Regions from separate parts of the Homo sapiens genome. Here region 2 is linked to region 1. The links are contacts of gene promoters, found by promoter capture Hi-C in blood cells and fetal thymus (Javierre and others, 2016). All regions are on one chromosome and are shown on one strand. The core of a region is centred on a gene start or on the middle of the fragment in contact, and the rest is flanking DNA. Distances in the headings are between cores, read along the strand shown. Region 1 holds the start of CERK (ceramide kinase). Region 2 has its middle 29 kb from the start of GRAMD4.

Region 1 (3,507 bases), core at 672-3,171:
GGCGTCTCTGCGGCGGCTGGAGCCTGAGGGAAGCCTTACAGCCCAGTGGCTACAAGCACAGCAGCTAATTGGGCCAGTCACTTCCAGCCCCTGCAGATCGGCCCCTGCATCCCTAGGACGGGAGCAGCTGCCTCTCAGGAACCCATCCGGTTTGAAGCCCAGTGGCCCGCACTTAGGAAGTGCTTGGGGGAGGCAGTCATCTTCCTGAAGCCTAGGGATTTACAACAAAGTACAAACCCTTCGGGCCCAGGTCAGGCACCTGTTCTCCTTGTGTGTGGGCCCTGGTGGGTGATATTTGGGGTGTGACATTTCTACCAAAGGGGACATGAGAAATACCTTAGGAAAGTCAAGTCTCAGATGCCCAGCCACAGATAGGTGACCCCAGGGCTGGAAACCAAGTGTTGGTCATGGGTCTGAGACCACCCCTCGACCTTGGCCCCACCTAACGTTCAACTCTGTCCCCACCAGAACCCAACCCACAGATCCTCACCACTCAGCACCAGAAAGCGCCCAGAAGAACTCCTGACCTCGACTGCCCACAGGGTCTAAAGGTGTCATCCCAGGCTCCGAATATCCACCAGAGAATCTTGGCCTCCGCCACACCCACCCCATTCCAGCTCCGCACATCCAGCATGAATCCTGGCCTCTGCCACACCCACCCCAATAATTAAAAAGAAAAAAGGCTGGGTGCGGTTGCTCACACCTGTAATCCCAGCACTTTGAGAGGCTGAGGTGGGCAGATCACCTGAGGTCAGGAATTCAAGACCAGCCTGGCCAACATGGTGAAACCCTGTCTCTACTAAAATACAAAAATTAGCCGGGCGTAGTAGCGGGCTCCTGTAATCCCAGCTACTCCGAGGCTGAGGCAGGGAGAATTGCTTGAACCCAGGAGGCGGAGGTGCAGTGAGCCAAGATCGTGGCATTGAACTCCAGCCTGGGCAACAGAGCAACACTCCGACTCAAAAAAAAAAAAAAACAAAAAACAAACAAAAAACAACAAAAAACAAAAACAAACCCTCTGTCCTCCTGCAGGGCTCTCTCCAGGGTGGGCTATGCGTCCTCCATGTTTACCAAAGTCACTCTTCTCCTCATCCGGAGGGCCTCTGCGGGGCAAGTAGCCAACCCGTGGCACGGAAACCAATTCCCCCATCCCGAGCAGGGAGCACACCCCACAGAAAGTCAGGGGCCCCTTCTTTAACTTCTTAACAGGAAGTCCTCACCCTGCAAGGGCGCCTCTCAGGTTTCGGATCCCTGCTAAAGAAAAGCATCTGTTCTTGGAGTAAACTGCAATGCGCGCGGTGGGGAGCGCCTGGCACCCCCCCTCGGGATCCATCCACAGTCCGTCTTGTCCAGAGGTGCCCTGCGGACAGACCGCACCGGGGGCCACGACCCCGCGCCCCGGGTCCCACCTCCCCGCGGGGATGGGGCGCCGGCCTCCCCTCCACTGCGCGGCGCTTTGTCCTCGGGTTCCCGGAGCAGACGGCGGCGCACAGCCCGGCCCCTGGCCCCGGCCTCCCTCCCGCCTGCCCCGACCCCTCCCTGGCGCCTGCGCTCCCAGGGCCCCCGGCCTTACCACAGCCGCTCGCTCCCTGCACCCGGTCCCCCCAGCCGGGTCCCCCAAGCCGCCCCCGCTCCCTGGCCAGGTCCGGCCGAACCCGGGCGGCGGCGACACTCACCCGCGCCGGGGGCGCCGGCTCCGGGCCCCGGGCTCCGCCACCAGCGCAGCAGAGCCCGCGCGGGCTCCAGGCTCACGGCGCAGCGCTGCTGCTTCACCCACAGCACGGATTGCAGCGGCTCCGCCGCCCCCGTCGCCCCCATCTCCGCCGCCGGGCTCGTCCGCCAGGCTGGGGGCGCGCGGACGCCGAGGGGCGCCGGACCGTTAGCGGCCCCTGCAGTGGCCCGGGCGGCGGGCGGCGGGCGGCGGGAGGCGGCGCTGCGTCACCCCGTACGCGGGCGGCGGGGACCGCGGAGGGGACGGGCGGGGCGGGGGCGAGGAGGAGGCGTGGGTAGAGGAGGGGCCGGGAGCCAGGGAGAGACGGGGGGACCCGAGAAGGGGAGAAGAGGGAGGAGGAAGGGGCCGGGATGGGGCTGGCCGAGGCCAGGGCGCTGGGGCCGGGAGGCGGCTGCCTTTCTCTCCTCTCTTCTCCGGCGGGTGCCGGGTGCTGAATCTGGCGCTCCCGCGGCCGGCCGGGACTCAGTGGCGCCTTCCGCGCGGGCCTCGGTTCAGGCGGGGTCCGGGCGGCGTGGAAACGCAGTCCTGGCGATCGGGCGCGGCGGGGGGCGGGCCTGGATGGGGGCGCCACGGGCGACGTGACCTTGGGCGGCGGGTGCCCTCTACGATCCTGGCGTCCTGTCGGCCTGGGAGGGGGCCTGCAGCTGGGCCCCGACAGGCAGGTAAGGCTTTCAGGAGGCGGAGGTCTTTTTAGGGGGCGGGGGCGCTGGCCCTTTGAACTGCTCTGGGGCCTGAAGCCACAGAGCAGACAGCTGAGCAGCCGCCCCCGAGCTGGCCCTAGGAACCGGAGCCTGGGCCCCAGACTTGGAGAGACACGGCCCCTGTGGCCCCAATTCACCGCCTCCCCAGGAAGGCCTCCTTGACCCCACAGCTGAAGGAATCACCAGCCTGCAGGGACTCCAGCCCTGCCTTCAGAGCACGCCGTGCGCCTTCATGCAAGCTCCAGTCTCTGCGTCCGCAGTGCTTAACACAGCCCCATAGGAAGCAGCCACAACCTGGTTCGGAGGGCACATCCCTCCCTGATTTATCAGTGAAGACTGTGCTCACAGAGGTTAAGTCACTTGCCCAAGAGCACAGGGCTCCAGTGTGGCAGAGCCTAGGCTCACACTGACACTGCCTGGATGTGACACTGAGGTCTGAGGCCTGCCCCTCCCCTCGGCTCCCCTACCCAGCCCTGCTGCTGCAGGCAGAGGTGAGGTGGGCTAGGTCCACGTGGCCTTGCTGCTGTGCCTGGCACCAGGTGGCAGCATATACAGGTCTTACCCTGCCAGCTCCTTGTGACTGTCTTGTCTATAGGGCGGGAACCAGCCATGAATCATTCCTCCCTGGGAGCCCAGCCCCTGTTCAGGCCATGCAGTGAAGGCCCCAGGACAGTCCTGCAGCCACCGTGGGCCCAGTCAGAGTCCTAGCAGGCAGTACCTGATCGTGGCACACAGTGGGGTGTGCAGCAGCGAGGCCTGCCCAGCCTCCTCCCTCCCTCAGCTGCCGCTCTGAGGCCTGGGAAATGTGGATCTGAAACTTACTTGGAAAGAAAAGCTCATGCCAGTGGCAGGAGGGTGCCGCTGCATGCGAAGAGGGTTGGCAGGCAAGGGTGGCATGGGCAGGGGCCCGAGAGCACCAGCGTCCCTACTGGGGACCCCTTCCCTGGGCCTCCCTGTGCTTAGGCTCCCCGTGCCCCTCCCGGCGTATTCACGTTGCTGTCCCCCGGCTGCACGCCTTGGCTTAAAATCCTGCAGCCAGAGGTGGGGGCCCAGAGACGACTCAGAAGTGCTTAG
Region 2 (3,110 bases), core at 220-2,719, 150 kb before region 1:
GCTGGGCTGTTTGGGGGGATGGGGAGGGCTGCCCAGGGAGAAGGTGAGTGGGTGGCCCTATTATCTGAAGACCTGCTGGGGCCAGGGGATGTGGGGGGTGGCTGCCACCTCTGCAGTGACCCTGGAAGGGCCCATGCTGCCCCTGCTTTGCAGGTGAGTAAGCGGGTGTCTGAGAGTTCCCAGCTCTGCCTGCAGGGCCCATGCCCTGTGGCTACCCCCCAGTCCCGCTCTGTTTGCTTTATTTAAGTATTTTGGAAGATCACTCCTCAGCCTCATGGGGTGGATCCTTAACTCTTCTGGCCCAGCCCACTCCTCAGGTTTCTAGGTGACCCACCTGCTTTGTGTGCACCCTGAGGCCTGCTGCACTGCCAGGACCTCAGCCCCTGCCCTGCTCCCCAGCAGCCTGACTGCCTCCCCTCCCTCAGCCCCTCAGAGAGGCCTCCTGTCAACACCCTTTCTGCAGCTTTCTCCCTACCCCTTCAGCCAGCTCCCCTCGTGGCCCTCCCTGCTGCCTGGTTCCTGCGGCATGTATTGGTGGGGAGGCCGTGTCGCCTCCTGTAACTCCCACGGCAGTCTTGCAGGATGGGTCCTGGCCTGGTTGGGAGCCCTGAGTCTGGTTGATTCCTGCCTACTGTTGGCCCGGGTGGGCAGAGCCGTGGCAGTCAGGAGAGCCTTGGCCTGGGGGGCCAGAGCCCTGCCCCCACATCTACACCAGCTACTGGGCCGCCTGGACAGCCCTGTGCCCTGCGTGCCTCCTGCGTCCAGAGGGGCGGAGCTGGGAGTCTGACTGTGACAGCTCTGGGGCCACATGGATGGCCCTCGGCCTGATTCCTCTTGGTGGGAGGCTTTGATTGGGAAGCTGGGGGAAGGTGGCTAGTGGGTGGGGTTCGGGAGTACTGGGGACCTCTCCCAGTGTCCTTCCTCCAGCCAGTCCTTGGCAGAGAGCTGAGAAGGTGCCGGGGATGGGTGAGCGCTCCACTAACCCCGAGGGCTGGGATTGGCCAGGAGCGCGTCCCAAGGAGGAGGTGACCTGGGCCACTGTGTGTGTGACCAGGCCTGGGCTGCTGCCGTTAACACCCAGTCAGCTGGTGTCTGCCTGTTGCTCGTGACTGGCCTGGTTTGGTGGCCTGGTAGAGGGGAATGGGAGGGGAGAAACCCGGGCTGGGCCCAGGTGAGTGTCAACAGGGGAGGGAGAGAGCAGCAGAGGTCCCGCCAGGGCGTGCTTGGGTGAGGGGAGGAGGAGCTCAGAGAGATTGGGGGAGAGTCCACAGTGTTGTCTGAGGACAGCTAAGGACGATGGACACTACTAGTTTATAAAAACAGCCAGAGGCCGGGCACACTGGCTCATGCCTGTAATCCCAACACTTTGGGAGGCCGAGGCAGGTGGATTGTCTGTGGTCGGGAGTCTGAGACCAGCCTGGCCAAGATGGTGAAACTCTGTCTCTACTAAAAATACAAAAATTAGCCAGCATGGTGGTGGGTGCCTGTAATCCCAGCTACTCAGGAGGCTGTGGGATGAAAATTGCACGAACCTGGGAGGCGGAGATTGCAGTAAGCCAAGATCGTGCCACCGGACTCCAGCCTGGGTGATAGAGCAAGACTCTGTCTAAAAAGAAAAAGAAAAAAAAACAAACAAACCCAAAAAACAGCCAGAGAAGGCAAGAGCCCTGGAATGGCCTAAGGTGGGAAACTGCTGCCCTCTCAGCCGCGGGGTCCAGTGTGTGATAGTGAAATCTCTCGTTATCTTAAATTCTCTCTTCAGGGACTTAAACAGAAATTAACAGGGCTGGGTGCAGTGGCTCATGCCTGTAGTCCCAGCACTTTGAGAGGCTGAGAGGGGGAGGATTGCGTGAGCTCAGGAGTTTGAGAACGGCCTGGGCAACATAGTGAGACTCCATCTCTACTAAAAATAAAAAATTAGCTGGGTGTGGTGGTGCATGTCGTAGTCCCAGCTCCTTGGGAGGCTGAGGTGGGAGTTGGGGTTTGTTGTTTTGGACAGATTTACCAAATTCATTTGGACGACGTTACTGAAGCTCCATGAGGCAGAGGCTAACGGACATTGCTGAAGTCCTAGGTTGCATCCCTCATAAAGGCCACCCCCGGGCCGTGCACGGTGCCTCACGCCTGTAATCCCAGCACTTTGGGAGGCTGAGGCAGGTGGAATACCAGAGGTCAGTAGTTGGAGACCAGTCTGGCCAACATGGCAAAACCCTGTCTCTACTAAAAATAAAAATTAGCCGGGTGTGGTGGTGGGTGCCTGTAATCCCAGCTACTCTGGAGGTTGAGGCACGAGAATCGTTTGAACTCGGGAGACGGAGGTTGCAGTGAGCCAAGATCAAGCCACTGCACTCCAGCCTGGGTGACAGAGCGAGACTCTGTCTCAAAAAAAAAAAAAAAAAAAACCCAGAAAGGCCAACCCCCGCACCCCTCAGCCCCCGCACCCCTCAGTTAGCCATGCCCAGGGACAGTCAGAAAGCATCTGTGATATCAGTGGACATTGGGGCCCAGCCCAGGACTGGTGTGTCCCCTCCTGTGCCTGCAGGCTTGACACAGCAAGGCCCTCCCTCTCGCCCCCAAGTCCCCACACTTGTCAAGGGCATCACGGCACATTCCAGGAAAGTTGGTTGATGTCACGGGAGTCGAGACCTCATCCTGACGCCCAGCTCAGCAGGGCCACCGGGGCTCAGGTTAGGTGGTGCCATAGTTGGGGGACAGTCCCCATAGGGTTGCGCCCCCAGAGTGCCCTAGGGAATGAGGCCCACTGCTACTGCCACCAGCCCAGCTGGCATAATTGATAAATAAGTGTGGTTCTTTTAAGTTGGGCAAGTGTGTATTTTTAAATAACTGACTGCTTAATTGTACGATTAAAAACAGCAGAGCTGGGTGCAGGGGTGCGTGTCTGTGGTCCCAGCTCCTTGGGAGGCTAAGGCGGGAGGATCCATAGAGCCCAGGAGTTTGAAGCCAGCCTGGGAAACATAGGGAGGAGGCCCTGTTTCCAAAAAAAAAAAAAAGGATGAAGTGGGCTGTTAGCACTGAGTCATGGCGAGCAAGGTGAAGAAGCCCCACTGTGGCTGTGTGGTGAACTCAGTCATTCACAGCCGGGAGGGGCT

Evidence for each region. The method cuts DNA at HindIII sites, captures the fragments that hold promoters and counts their contacts. A CHiCAGO score of 5 or more calls a contact.
Region 2: a contact is called between a fragment that was not itself captured here and the fragment with the promoter of CERK in region 1, in 1 of 17 cell types (M0 macrophages). The highest score is 5.1, in M0 macrophages.

Annotation. Positions count from the first base shown.
Region 1 is chr22:46,736,331-46,739,837 of GRCh38, forward strand. It overlaps CERK (ceramide kinase), which reads right to left and starts at 1,922. Exons shown (of 13, transcript NM_022766.6): 1 at 1,677-1,922. The coding sequence starts at 1,818. It overlaps LOC105373077 (a long non-coding RNA gene), which reads right to left and starts at 62. Exons shown (of 2, transcript XR_001755593.2): 1 at 1-62. RefSeq lists enhancers at 1-307, 995-1,164, 2,403-3,061, 2,435-2,764 and a silencer at 1,315-2,274. The HindIII fragment of the contact is 34,881 bases long and covers 1-3,507 here.
Region 2 is chr22:46,589,451-46,592,560 of GRCh38, forward strand. It overlaps a transcript of GRAMD4 not described here. Among named protein-coding and RNA genes, the nearest start is that of GRAMD4, 29 kb to the right of the region's middle. The HindIII fragment of the contact is 4,760 bases long and covers 1-3,110 here.